Regions from separate parts of the Homo sapiens genome. Here all the other regions are linked to region 2. Evidence: promoter capture Hi-C in 16 types of primary human blood cells and fetal thymus (Javierre and others, 2016). All regions are on one chromosome and are shown on one strand. Each heading gives the region's core, a stretch centred on a gene start or on the middle of the fragment in contact. The rest is flanking DNA. Distances are from core to core; before and after follow the strand shown.

Region 1 (3,126 bases), core at 134-2,633, 660 kb after region 2:
CAGGTCACTGCCCATTTCCCGCAGCTGAATACCCAGAAGCGAGCCTCTTGGGGTCCCCCATAACCCACATTTAGGGTGTTTTCTTTCTTTTTTTTTTTTTACACAGAGTCTCGCACTCTCGCCCAGGCTGGAGTGCAGTGGCTCCATCTTGGCTCACTGTAAGCTCCGCCTCCCGGGTTCACGCCATTCTCCTGCCTCAGCCTCCCGAGTAGCTGGAACTACAGGTGCCTGCCACCATGCCTGGCTAATTTTTTGTATTTTTAGTAGAGATGAGGTTTCACCGTGTTAGCCAGGATGGTCTCGATCTCCTGACCTTATGATCCGCCCGCCTCGGCCTCCCAGGGTGCTGGGATTACAGGAGTGAGCCACCATGCCTGGCCTTTTTTTTTTTTTTTTTTTTTTTTTTTTTTGTGACAGAGTCTCGCTCTGTCACCCAGGCTGGAGTGCAGTGATGTGATCTCACCTCACTGCAACCTCCACCTCCCCGGTTCAAGCGATTTTCCTGCCTCAGCCTCCCAAGTAGCTGTTATTACAGGTGGGTGCCACCATGCCCGGCTAATTTCTGTAGTTTTAGTAGAGATGGGGTTTCACCATGTTAGTCCAGGCTGGTCTCGAACTCCTGGGCTCAAGCGATCCTCCTGCCTTGGCATCCCAAAGTGCTGGGATTATAGGTGTGAGCCACCGCACCTTGCCCAGGGGTGAGTCTTATTAGCACCTGATCAGATGGGAACTACTGTTCTACTTTACAGATAATGCAACTGAAGCTCAGAGAGGTAAACTAAGCTGGTCAAGGTCACAGAGCCTGGAAGCCAGGGAGCTGAACCTGGGTTTGTCAGACTCCAGTTTTGTCCACACTGATGGCTTCTCTGCTGATGCTGCCCTAGGACAGCTGGTGGCTCTCCTGCTGTGTTCTGAGGACAGAGCATCCCTGAAGGGAGGGCGAGGTGCTGCGGGTCAGTGTGGACTGCTGGGAGAGGGTCTTTCTCTGCCCTAAAATCGGATGGGCTGCCCCTTGCAGTAAGGGCAGGATTGAGAGTGATGAGCCTTGCCTGGGTGCAGTGGTTCATGCCTGTAATCCCAGCACGTTGGGAGGCTGAGGCAGGAGGATCACCTGAGGTCAGGAGTTCAAGACTAGCCTGGCCAACATGGCGAAACCCCCTCTCCACTAAAAATATAAAAATTGGCCGGGTGCAGTGGCTCATGCCTGTAATCCCAGCACTTTGGGAGGCCGAGGTGGGTGAATCACGAGGCCAGGAGATCGAGACCATCCTGGCTAACACAGTGAAACCCCGTCTCTACTAAAAAATAGAAAAAGTTAGCTGAGTGTGGTGGTGGGTACCTGTAGTCCCAGCTACTTGGGAGGCTGAGGCAGGAGAATGGCTTGACCCGGGAGGCGGAGCTTGCAGTGAGCCGAGATCGCGCCACTGCACTCCAGCCTGGGCGACAGAGCGAGACTCCGTCTCAAAAAAAAAAAAAAAAAAAAAAAAAAAAAAAAAAAAAATATATATATATATATATATATATATATATATATATATATATATATGTATGTATATATAAATTAGCCAGGCATCATGGTGCACTCCTGTAATCCCAGGTACTCGAGAGACTGAGGCAGGAGAATTCGTTTGAACCTGGGAGGTGGAGGTCGCGGACGAGCTGAGATCGCACCACTGCATTCCGGTCCTGGGCAACAGAGTGAGACTCTGTCTCAAAAAAAAAAAAAAAAAAAAAGGGAAAGTGGTGAGCCTTGAGCTGTGGTGAGCTATAAAGACCTTTCCTATGTTAGCCTGACTCAGGCCAAGATCCTGAGGGGGTTGGAGGGGATCTTAGGCTTTTCAGATTTTCCTGCAGGCTTCTTGCTTTGAGCAGATGGTGACTCACTGGGCAGATTCTCCTGGTGGAGTCCCTTCTGTCCTGGCTGTAGCTTTGTACTTAGGCCATTTCTTTGCTGTAGGCACTCAGAATCTCAGAGCCCCAGGCTTGAGATAATTTTTCTGGTTTAACTTCTGTAAAGTTACAGATGAGGGACCTGAGACCCAGAGAACAAGGCCTTTTCCAGGGCTGCAGGCCAGTTCCCCTTTGGGTTGGGCAGTATTGATTGATACTCTTCCTGGGAAGGTGGCAATGCTTACGGGCTTTGGATCAGTGCTAGGCTCATATGCTTAACTGCCACTGACAAGGTTTGGAGCCCACGGGCAAGGTCTTTAGTTTCTCGAGCTAGTTTTTTTTTTTTTTTTTCGTGAGACAGAGTCCCCCTCTGTTGCCCAGGCTGGAGTGCAGTGGTGCCATCTAGGCTCACTGCAACCTCTGCCTCCTGGGTTCAAGCGATTCTCCTGCCTCAGCCTCCTGAGTAGCTGGGATTACAGGCGCCCACCACCACGCCCGGCTAATTTTTGTATTTTTAGTAGAGATGGGGTTTCACCATATTGGCCAGGCTGGTCTTGAACTCCTGACCTTAAGTGATTCTCCCACCTTGGCCTCCCAGAGTGTTGGGATTACAGGCGTGAGCCACAGCGGCTGGCCTTGAACTAGCTTTTTAATCCATAAAATGACACCTGGGTGTGCGAGACCCGGCTGACATTGGCTGATGGTGTGCATCTTCCCAACTCTGTGTTCAGGGATATCAGGCTGACATCTCTAAGTCACAGGTAGGGTATTTACATCACGGAAAGTGGCAAATGCTACAGCTGAGGCCCCTTCCTCTCTCCTGCCCAATGTTCATATTGACTGGGATAATTGTCCCTGCCTCCCAGGGTTATCGTTTCAAGGGTTTCTTGGTCTGGTGAGCATCGTATGAGCAGATACATACCTGGAAAGCCTCAGCTTGGTGCAGCACCTTGCAGCAGCTAACATTTGACAAGTAGTACGGCCCTACTCACCTCTGGACCTCTGGACACGGGGCAGATGTGGGGAGGAGGGGCCGAGGAGGGGGCGGGGCCGAGGAGGAGGAGGTGGGGCTTGAGGACGGGGAGGGGTGTCGAGGAGGGGGAGGCGGGTCCCAAGGAGTAGGAGGCAGAGTTTAGCAGGAAAAGGCATGTCCTGAGGAGGAGGAGGGGGCAGGGCTGAGGTGGAGGAGGTGGTTCCTGAGGATGAGGAGGTAGGGCTGAGAAAGAAGAGGCGGGG
Region 2 (3,193 bases), core at 22-2,521:
GAGCTGTGTAAGCGGCACAGCGTCTCTCCTCTGTGTCCAAGTCCTGAGCACACCCTCCCCTCCTGGGACTGAGCTGAGATCTCATCTCGGGGAGGACACTGAAGACCTGTAGGTACTAGGGGTCCCCTCCTAACAGCCCAACTTGCTATCCCCCACCTCCCAACTCCAGAGGGTTCTTTCTCACCCCTCTGCAGCCCCCGCCAGGAAAGGGCTCCCTCCCCAGCACCTAGCCTCAGGGGGCCCCAGTAACTAGAAGAAGGAGGCAGATGTGGTGCTTTTTGTTGTTGTTGTTTTGAGACAGAGTCTTACTCTGTTTCCCAGGCTGGAGTGCAGTGGCTTGATCTTGGCTCACCGCAACCTCTGCCTCCTGGGTTCAAGCAATTCTTCTGCCTCAGCCTCCTGAGTAGCTGGGATCACAGGCACCCGCCACCATGCCCAGCTAATTTTGTGTGTGTGTGTGTGTGTGTGTGTATTTTTAGTAGAGACAGGGTTTCACCATGTTAGCCAGGCTGGTCTCGAACTCTTGACCTCAGGTGATCCGCCTGTCTTGGCCTCCCAAACTGTTGGGATGACAGGCATGAGCCACCACTCCCTGGCCTGGTGCATGTCTTTATAAATAACTGGATGGGCAGGTGGCTTCACACCTCAGTTTGCTCATCCATTCAATGGGGGTTCCACTAAGACAACCGATGTGAAAACTCTTGGAGGGAGACCAGAGCTGGGGGCCGGGGGGCATGATCCTTCCCCCCTACCCCCGCAACCAGCCCATGAGCCTGGGACTACCACACTCCTTTCAGAGACAGCTGGAGCATCAGCAACCTCCCGCCTGGACACACACACACACAAAGAACCCAGGGGCACCTGGCCACTCCCCCGCCCAGGGGAAGGAAGAAAAAGTTATAAAGAAGTTACTAAGTTAACTTCTTTAAGTTACTGGTAACTGCTAGTCTTTGGGGGTGGGGTTTCCAACCCATTCTCCCCATCCTCCAGTGGGGCTGGAGGGCTAAGGACTCCTACAAGGAGGGGAGGCAGGGTAGCCCCCCAATTCCCTGGAGGTGTGTACGGGGGGCTGTGGTGCACCTCGCAGGATGCCCCCCCACACACCCTGTGTCCTGTAGTCCCCCGGCACAGCCAGAGGCCATACAGCCCTTTAGGAGGAGTATTAGTGGGGCACCAGGCCCCCCTGTGACAATAAGGAACCTCCCACAGCCTGCTCCTCCCTCTTCACACCCCCTTGGAGGTAAAAGGAGGGTCGGCCAGCACAGACTCCCAGGCTCCAGAGAGGGGAAGGAAGGGGCAGCAGAGAGGGGTCAGAAGGAGGGAGCTTAAGCCAGGCAGGGTTACTTGTCTCTGTGACTCCTTCCGCCTGGCACATGCTGCCCAGCTATGGGGACCTTTGACCTGTGGACAGATTACCTGGGTTTGGCACACCTGGTTAGGGCTCTGAGTGGGAAAGAGGGTCCTGAAACCAGGCTGAGCCCCCAGCCAGAGCCAGAGCCAATGCTGGAGCCGGTGTCAGCCCTGGAGCCGATGCCAGCGCCGGAGTCGGTGCCAGTGCCGGGACCCAAGGATCAGAAGCGCAGCCTGGAGTCCTCGCCAGCTCCCGAACGCCTGTGCTCTTTCTGCAAACACAACGGCGAGTCCCGGGCCATCTACCAGTCCCACGTGCTGAAGGACGAGGCTGGCAGGGTGCTGTGTCCCATCCTGCGGGACTACGTGTGTCCCCAGTGCGGCGCCACACGTGAGCGCGCCCACACCCGACGCTTCTGCCCACTTACTGGCCAGGGCTACACCTCCGTCTACAGCCACACCACCCGAAACTCGGCAGGCAAGAAGCTGGTCCGGCCTGACAAGGCGAAGACACAGGACACAGGCCACCGCCGAGGAGGAGGAGGAGGAGCAGGTGCCTGCACAGGTGGCTGGGGGGGACCTGTCCGAGGGTAGTGGCTGAGCCCCCCTGTGAAGTAAGATTAGCCCCAGTACCCACCTCCAAGGGTTAGGGGAAGACCTTAGAGAGAGCTTAGAACAGCAGTTGATTTTATTTACGTATTTATTTATTTATCTTGAGACAGGTCTCTTTCTGTTGCTCAGGCTGGAGTGCAGTGGCGCCATCTCGGCTCACTGCAACCTCCACCTCCTGGATTCAAGCGATTCTCCTGCCCCAGCTTCCTGGGTAGCTGGGATTATAGGCGCGCGCCACCACACCCGGCTAATTGCCACCATGCCCGGCTAAATTTTGTATTTTTAGTAGAGATGGGGTTTCACCATGTTGGCCAGGCTGGTCTCAAAACTCCTGATCTCGTGATCCGCCCACCTCGGCCTCCCAAACTGCTGAGATTACAGGCGTGAGCACCGCACCGAGCCAGTTTGTTTATGTATTTATTTATTTATCTTGAGACAGAGTCTCTTTCTGTCACCCAGGCTGGAGTGCAGTGGCATGATCTTGGCTCACTGCAACCTCTGCCTTCCGGGTTCAAGCGATTCTTCTGCCTCAGCCTCCTGAGAAGCTGAGATTACAGGCGCCTGCCACCATGGCCAGCTAATTTTTGTATTTTTAGTAGAGATGGGGTTTCACCATGTTGGCCAGGCTGGTCTCGAACTCCCAACCTCGTGATCCACCCTCCTCAGCCTCCCAAAGTGCTGGGATTACAGGCATCAGCCACCACATCTGGCCCGCAGGGTTATTATAGATGCAGAAAGAAGACTTTTATTTTATTTATTTATCAATTTATTTTTCTTCCTTTTTTTTTTTAATTTTTTTTTTTGAGATAGAGTCTCGCTCTATCCACCCAGGCTGGATGGAGTTCAGTGGTGCGATCTTGGCTCACTGCAACCTCTGCCTCCTGGGTTCAAGCGATTCTCCTGCCTCAGCCTCCCGAGTAGCTGGAATTACAGGCGTGCACCACCATTCCTGGTGTGTTTTTTTTTTCCTCCCATAGAAACAGGGTCTTACTATGTTTCCCAGGCCGGTCTCAAACACGGCTTAGGTGATCCTCCTGCCTAGGCATCCCAAAATGCTAGGATTATAGGCGTGAGCCACCACGCCTGGCCCCAGTGAGGTTTTCTTTCTTTCTTTCTTTTATTTGATTATTTTTCTGAGATGGAGTCTTGCTCTGTCACCCAGGCTAGAGTGCAGTGGCGCGATCTTGGCTCACTGCAACCTGTCTCCCGGGTTCAAGCGATTCTCTTACCT
Region 3 (2,969 bases), core at 219-2,718, 550 kb after region 2:
CTGCTATGAGAATCTAATGCTGTTGCTGATCTGAGAGGAGGCAGAGCTCAGGCTGTAGGTAATGCTCACCCATCACTCACCTCCTGCTGTGTGGCCTGGTCCCTGACAGGCCACAAGGCCAGGGAGGGGTGGGGGTGGGGACCCCTGCTATATAAAGCCTACTGCTCCTAGGCTACCAACCCGGACAGTGTGTAACTGTCTGAATACTGTAGGCAATTGCAACACAATGCTAAGTATTTGTTTTGTTGTTTTTACCTTCATCTTCTTTGTGATGTTACAATGGTAGGTATTTGGATATCTATACATATCAAAACATAGAAAAGGTACTGGGTGTAGTGGCTCACACATGTAATCCCAGAACTTTGGAAGGCTGAGGCAGGAAGTTCAAGACTAGCTTGGGCAATGTGGTGAGACCTCTTCTCTACCAAAGGAAAAAAAAAAAGCTAAAAAGCTACTTCATATAAATTTCCTTTCATTTCCCTTTTTATTTTTCCCATTTACTTTTTTTTTTTTTTTTTTTTTTTTTGAGACGGAGTTTCACTCTTGTTCCCCAGGCTGGAGTGCAGTGGCACGATCTCGGCTAACTGCAACCACCACCTCTCGGGTTTAAGCGATTCTTCTGCCTCAGCCTTCCGAGTAGCTGGGATTACAGGCACCTGCCACCATGCCCGACTAATTTTTATTTTTTTTCAAACAGGGTCTGGGCCAGGCACAGTGGCTCACGCCTGTAATCCCAGCACTTTGGGAACCGAGGCGGGTGAATCACCTGAGGTCAAGAGTTCAAGACCAGCCTGGCTAAAATGGAGAAAACTCGTCTCTACTAAAACTACAAAAATTATCTGGGCATGGTGGCAGGCACCTGTAATCCCAGCTACTCAGTTGTCTGAGGCAGAATAATCTTGTGAACCTGGGAGGTGGAGGCTGCAGTGAGCTGAGATCACACCACTGCACTCCAGCCTGGGCGACAGAGCGAGACTCCGTTTCAAAAAATAAAATTACATGATATAAATAAAAAGAAAAAAATAAACAGTCTGGCTTTCACTCGGGCCATAGTGCCAGGTGAGATCTCAGCTCACTGTAACCTCCACCTCCTTGGCCCACTAATTTTTGTATTTCTTAGAAGAAATGAGGTTTTGCCATGTTGTCCAGGCTGCTCTGGAACTCCTGAGCTCAAGCAATCTTCCCGCCTCTGCCTCCCCAAAGTGCTAGGATTATAGGCATGAGCCACCCCGCCCAGCCTCCTTTACTTTATACATTTTTTCACTTTATATATATATGTGTGTGTGTGTGTGTGTGTGTGTTTGATACAAATGGTATCAGACTGCATCATTTTGTTCCTTTCTTTCTCTTTAGTATCATTAAAAAATAACTAGAAGCTGGGCCCAGTGGCTCCTGCCTGTAATCCCAGCACTTTGGGAAGCTGAGGTGGGTGGATCACTTGAGGTCAGGAGCTCAAGACCAGCCTGGCCAACATGGTGAAACCCCATCTCTACTAAAAACACAAAAAATTAGCCAGGCGCGGTGGCACACGCCTGTAATCCCAGCTACTCAGGAGGCTGAGACAGGAGAATTGCTTAAACCTGGGAGGCAGAGGTTGCAGTGAGCCGAGATCGTGCCATTACACTTCAAACTGGGTGACAGAGCAAGATTTTGTCTCAATAATAATAATAATAATAACTAAAGATGATGCTCTCCCTATGCTGCCCAGGCTGGTCTAGAACTCCTGTCCTCTGCAATCCTCCCACCTCTGCCTCCCAAAGTACTGGGACTACAGGCCTGAGGCACTACGCTTAGTCCTTTTTTTTTTTTTTTTGAGAGAGTCTTGCTCTGTCGCCCAGACTGGAGTGCAGTGGCATGATTTCGGCTCACTGCAACCTCTGCCTCCCAGGTTCAAGCGATTCTCCTGCCTCAGCCTCCCGAGTAGCTGGGACTACAGGCGCCCACCACCACGCCTGACTAATTTTTATATTTTTGGTAGAGACAGGGTTTCACCATATTGGCCAGGCTGCTCTCCAACTCCTGACATTGTGATCCTCCCGTCTCGGCCTTCCAAAGTGCTTGGATTACAGGCATAAGCCACCGCGCCTGGCCTTTTTTTGTATTTTTAGTAGAGACGGGGTTTCACTGTGTTAGCCAGGACGGTCTCAATCTCCTGGCCTCGTGATCCACCCACCTCGGCCTTCCAAAGTGCTGGGATTACAGGCGTGAGCCACCGTGCCCAGCCTACCTTGCAGTTTTCTAGCTTGTCTTTCCCAAGTTTACTCCAGTACCTGCCCTTCAGGGAAGCCTACACTGACTGCTTCCTCTGAAGTGCGACAGCTACCCCCTCCAGCCTTTGCAGTCTGGGATACCTTTCGCCTGATACCTCATACTGTGCCCACTCATTCCTTTCACAAAGACGGACGTAGCACAGGCTCTGTGCAATTTCAGGGAGGAGTAACATGCAAAATAATCAAACAGGGCCAAGGGCCAGAAATGACGTCGGTGTGGTCTAGGAAGATTGCTCAGAAGATGTTACATTTAAACAGATAACTAAATGAGCAAAAGGGGCCAGCCCTGGAAAGATGTGATAGAAAAGCATTCCAGAACAGATAACAGCCAGTGCAAGGGCCATGTGGTTGGAAGTAAGGTGAGACTATTTGTTTTTGTTTGTTTTTTTTTTGACGGTGGGAGGTGGTTTGTTTTTTTGTTTCTTTGGTCTCACTCTGTTGCCCAGGCTGGAATGCAGTAGCATGATTTTTGTTTTTTATTTGAAACGGAGTCTTGCTCTATCACCCAGGCCAGAGTGCATGGCACTGTCTCGGCTCACTGCAACCTCTGCCTCCTGGGTTCAAACAGTTCTCTGCCTCAGCCACCCAAGTAGCTGGGATTACAGGTGCCCACCACAACACCCAGATAATTTTTGTATTTTTAGTAGAGATGGGGTTTCACCATCTTGGCCAGGCTGGTCTTGAACTCCTGACCTCGTG
Region 4 (3,220 bases), core at 167-2,666, 590 kb before region 2:
AGCTTCCCCTCTCAACCAGCAGCCATAAGGGCTATGCCTAGGGGTGACCCCAACATCCCACCCTACCTATGAGCATTTTGGATGCAGGAGAAAGTGGCCTGAGGCAGAGCAGCCAGGCTAGGAAGGGGTGTGCTCTGTGGGACTCACGTTGTTCCGAGGTGCGTTGGGCTGCACAGGGTCCTCGGCGGCCAGGGCGATGCTGCTCATGGCAATGACCATGAGGATGCACATCTCAAAGTAGCGCAGGTTCAGGATGTAATGGCACAGGCGGCGAAGGCTGTTGGAGACAGATGGGCGTGCAGAGGTCCACTCAGACCACAGGCTCACAAACCCTTTTCTTCCATAATCTCATGTTACCTACCACTACTGAGATCTCCAACCCCCAAGGCCTCCTACACAACAAACTATTAAACTCCTCCAGGTGGGGGCCCTCTCTGGGTCCTGGAACCCCAAGAAGGCAGAGGGGACCTCGGTGAGAGAAGACATTCACATGCCCTGTTTAGCAAAGTTCCTATCACTCCCAAACGACCCTCTTGAAGTATCTTGATCCCCAAGCTAGGTTGAAGAAATACGGTCCTTAATTCTGTAGGAGATAAAAAGGCTTTTCGATATTAAATGTCCCAGGGCCAAACAATATTGTGAATCTATGGGTTAAGTAGATTTCTTTCTTTCTTTTTAAAAATTAGCTGTGTGACCTTGGGCAAGTTACTTGTCCCCTCTGTGCCTTGGTGCCCTCATCTGTAAAATAGCCGTAATACTAGTGCTTACTTCACAAAATCATGAGACCCAAGACTTAATTTATGCCTGGCTCATGATAGGGGCTCCAAAAAGTTAGTTATTGAAATTATGAATTGCAGGCCTTATCAGAGCCTTGAATGTGCCAATGGGATGTGCCAGTTAACCTCTTAATAAGTGGAGCCAATAATAAATAGTTCATAAGGTTGTGTGAATGGCAGCAGAGCTGAGTGGTTAAGAACAAGGAGGCTAGAGCCAGTGTCTGGGCTCAAACTCCAGCTCTCCCACTGGCTTGCTGTGTGACCTTGGGCAGGTGAATTCACGTCTCTGGACCTCAGTTTTTTCATCTGTCAAATGGAGCTAAGCATAGTAACAACCTCAGAGAAATTAAAAAAAATTTTAAGGCACTCAGAACAGTGCCTGGCACTGAGTAGATACCACATAAGTGTTTCCTTAGTAAAATCGATAAGTCAACTAAATAAAAAAGTACTTTAAAGGTACTTTTATTTATTACTACCCAGGGTGAGTTGCCAAGAGGCAGATTATAGAAAGCAGCTTCTCCCCCATCTTATCTGACATGATCCTTCATTGTCAAGAAGCATTTTGAGCGGTCAGGCTTTCAAGAAATATCCCTGGGAGACATTCAATTCTAAAACAACCTCCGAGCCACTACGACATTCATGGGATAAATTTCTCCCCTAAATAGTCTATCCATTTCAAAGATGCCCAAGACAGAAGGCCATGGAACTCAGACACTATCCGCCCAGAATCTAAACCCTTACAGAGTCTAGGTTAGAAACAGAGTTCAGGTCCTAGGGCTGCCACGTGCAGTTGTTCAGGCTGTGTACTGCACAAGGCAGCCATTTCTAAGGGGGTGCCTCTTACATCACAGTGAAGATTTGTTTATTTATGACAAATTTATTTGTTGTTTAGGACAAATTTATTTGTTTATTTATGACAAATTTGTTTATTTATTGTCATAAATAACAATGATTTTCTAGTGGATGGCAGGACAGGGGTCTCTTCCAACAAAGTATATTGTGACAAATCATCTTACCTGACTTACGGAAGGAGCATCCATTTTCAACTTGTTCAAAGGTATCCCTGGACTCATGGTGGTCAACACTCACTCATTGCCCTCTATCTGGCCTGACTTCCGCCACCCTGGTGGGAGCCCCAGGCCCCCCCTGCCCTTGCTGGGGGCCATACTCACGGGTTGGTCGTGGACAGGATGAACATGGAGCTATAGGGAGGCATTGGCTTAGGGCCGTCTTCCCCACGGTCGTCTTCCTCCTCCTCCTTCTTCTCTTCCTCTTTTTTTGGCAGTGGGTCTGGGTTGGCGTTTTTGTTCACTGTTGGGACAAGAACCAACACAGGGCTCCCTCCACAATTTCCCACAAGTCTCTGGGAACTCCTGTGTACTCCCAGGGCAGGCAAGAAGCGGCTGACATTTCTAAAGTGCCTGCTGTATATACCAGGCATCTTATGACATCACTGAACCCTTGTATAGCCCTGAGGTTGATATATTCTGATCTCCTGTTTACAGATGAGGAAATTGAGGCACAGAGAAGTAAAGTGACTTGTCTAAGGTCACACAGCAGGAAGTGGCAGAGCTGGCATTTGGAACCCAGGCGGCCTGGCCCCCGAGAGCCTGCTCTCAACCACTCTATAGCCTTGAGTGCGGTGGGGCCCTCATGGGATATTAACACAGACCTGCCCCTATCCTCGTTGGACCTTCACACCCTCACTTGCAGGCAGGTAGGGAGAGTGCCAAGAGACCCACTGAACAGATAGAAATACTGAGACCTCCCATAAACTGCATGGCATGCCCCCATTAGCACCCCTCTCTTGACTCAGGGGGAGGAGCCATCAGCCTCTGGAGCTTCCATTCTGCAGCCCAGCCTGCTTATGTGCCCACGGGCAGGCTGAGCCTCTCTGAGCCTCAGTCCCTACATCTATAAAATGGGCACAGTGACAAGACCTTAGGATCTTAGGTCTCAGGACCATGGAAAGCCTTTATCCAGCAAACTCATGAAAATCTCTCACATAGAACTGACACTAGATGAACTTAAGACATAATCCACCCAGCAGTTCACCATTTTTTTTTTTTTTTTTTTTTTTTGAGACAGTCTCGCTTTGTCACCCAGGCTGCAGTACAGAGGTGCCATCTTGGCTCACTCTACCTCGGCCTCCTGAAGTACTGGGATTACAGGCATGAGCCAGTACATCTGGCCCCTTTTTTAATGTGGCGACTAGAGAGTTTAAACTGACATTTGCATGTGGCCTGTGTTACATTTCTTTTGGACAGTGCTGGGCCGAGAGAATCAATCATCTGACCCCCTCAAGCTTCCATCAGAGGACCCTATTGCTCCTCAAATGGGGTGGCTTCCTGGCTCCCCTTGGGAAGGAAGGACGTAGAAGATATTGCTAACCCGACTGAACACAACCCCGTGCCAGGCACTGTGCACAAATTATCTCACTGAAC

What was found. The method cuts DNA at HindIII sites, captures the fragments that hold promoters and counts their contacts. A CHiCAGO score of 5 or more calls a contact.
Region 1: a fragment that was not itself captured here is called in contact with the fragment with the promoter of NANOS3 in region 2 in 1 of 17 cell types (non-activated CD4 T cells); the score reaches 5.2 in non-activated CD4 T cells.
Region 3: a contact is called between a fragment that was not itself captured here and the fragment with the promoter of NANOS3 in region 2, in 4 of 17 cell types (total B cells, fetal thymus, naive CD8 T cells and 1 more). The highest score is 6.3, in total B cells.
Region 4: a fragment that was not itself captured here is called in contact with the fragment with the promoter of NANOS3 in region 2 in 1 of 17 cell types (total B cells); the score reaches 7.0 in total B cells.

What each region holds. Positions count from the first base shown.
Region 1 is chr19:14,534,044-14,537,169 of GRCh38, forward strand. All of the region lies in intron 1 of TECR (trans-2,3-enoyl-CoA reductase), which reads left to right. It also overlaps a transcript of DNAJB1 not described here. Among named protein-coding and RNA genes, the nearest start is that of TECR, 6.0 kb to the left of the region's middle. The HindIII fragment of the contact is 5,775 bases long and covers 1-3,126 here.
Region 2 is chr19:13,875,863-13,879,055 of GRCh38, forward strand. It overlaps NANOS3 (nanos C2HC-type zinc finger 3), which reads left to right and starts at 1,272. Exons shown (of 2, transcript NM_001098622.3): 1 at 1,272-1,903. The coding sequence starts at 1,387. The HindIII fragment of the contact is 10,444 bases long and covers 1-3,193 here.
Region 3 is chr19:14,423,441-14,426,409 of GRCh38, forward strand. No RefSeq gene overlaps it. Among named protein-coding and RNA genes, the nearest start is that of DDX39A, 5.6 kb to the left of the region's middle. The HindIII fragment of the contact is 8,906 bases long and covers 1-2,969 here.
Region 4 is chr19:13,283,120-13,286,339 of GRCh38, forward strand. It overlaps CACNA1A (calcium voltage-gated channel subunit alpha1 A), which reads right to left. Exons shown (of 47, transcript NM_001127222.2): 21 at 1,949-2,087; 22 at 148-277. Among named protein-coding and RNA genes, the nearest start is that of IER2, 130 kb to the left of the region's middle. The HindIII fragment of the contact is 3,325 bases long and covers 1-3,079 here.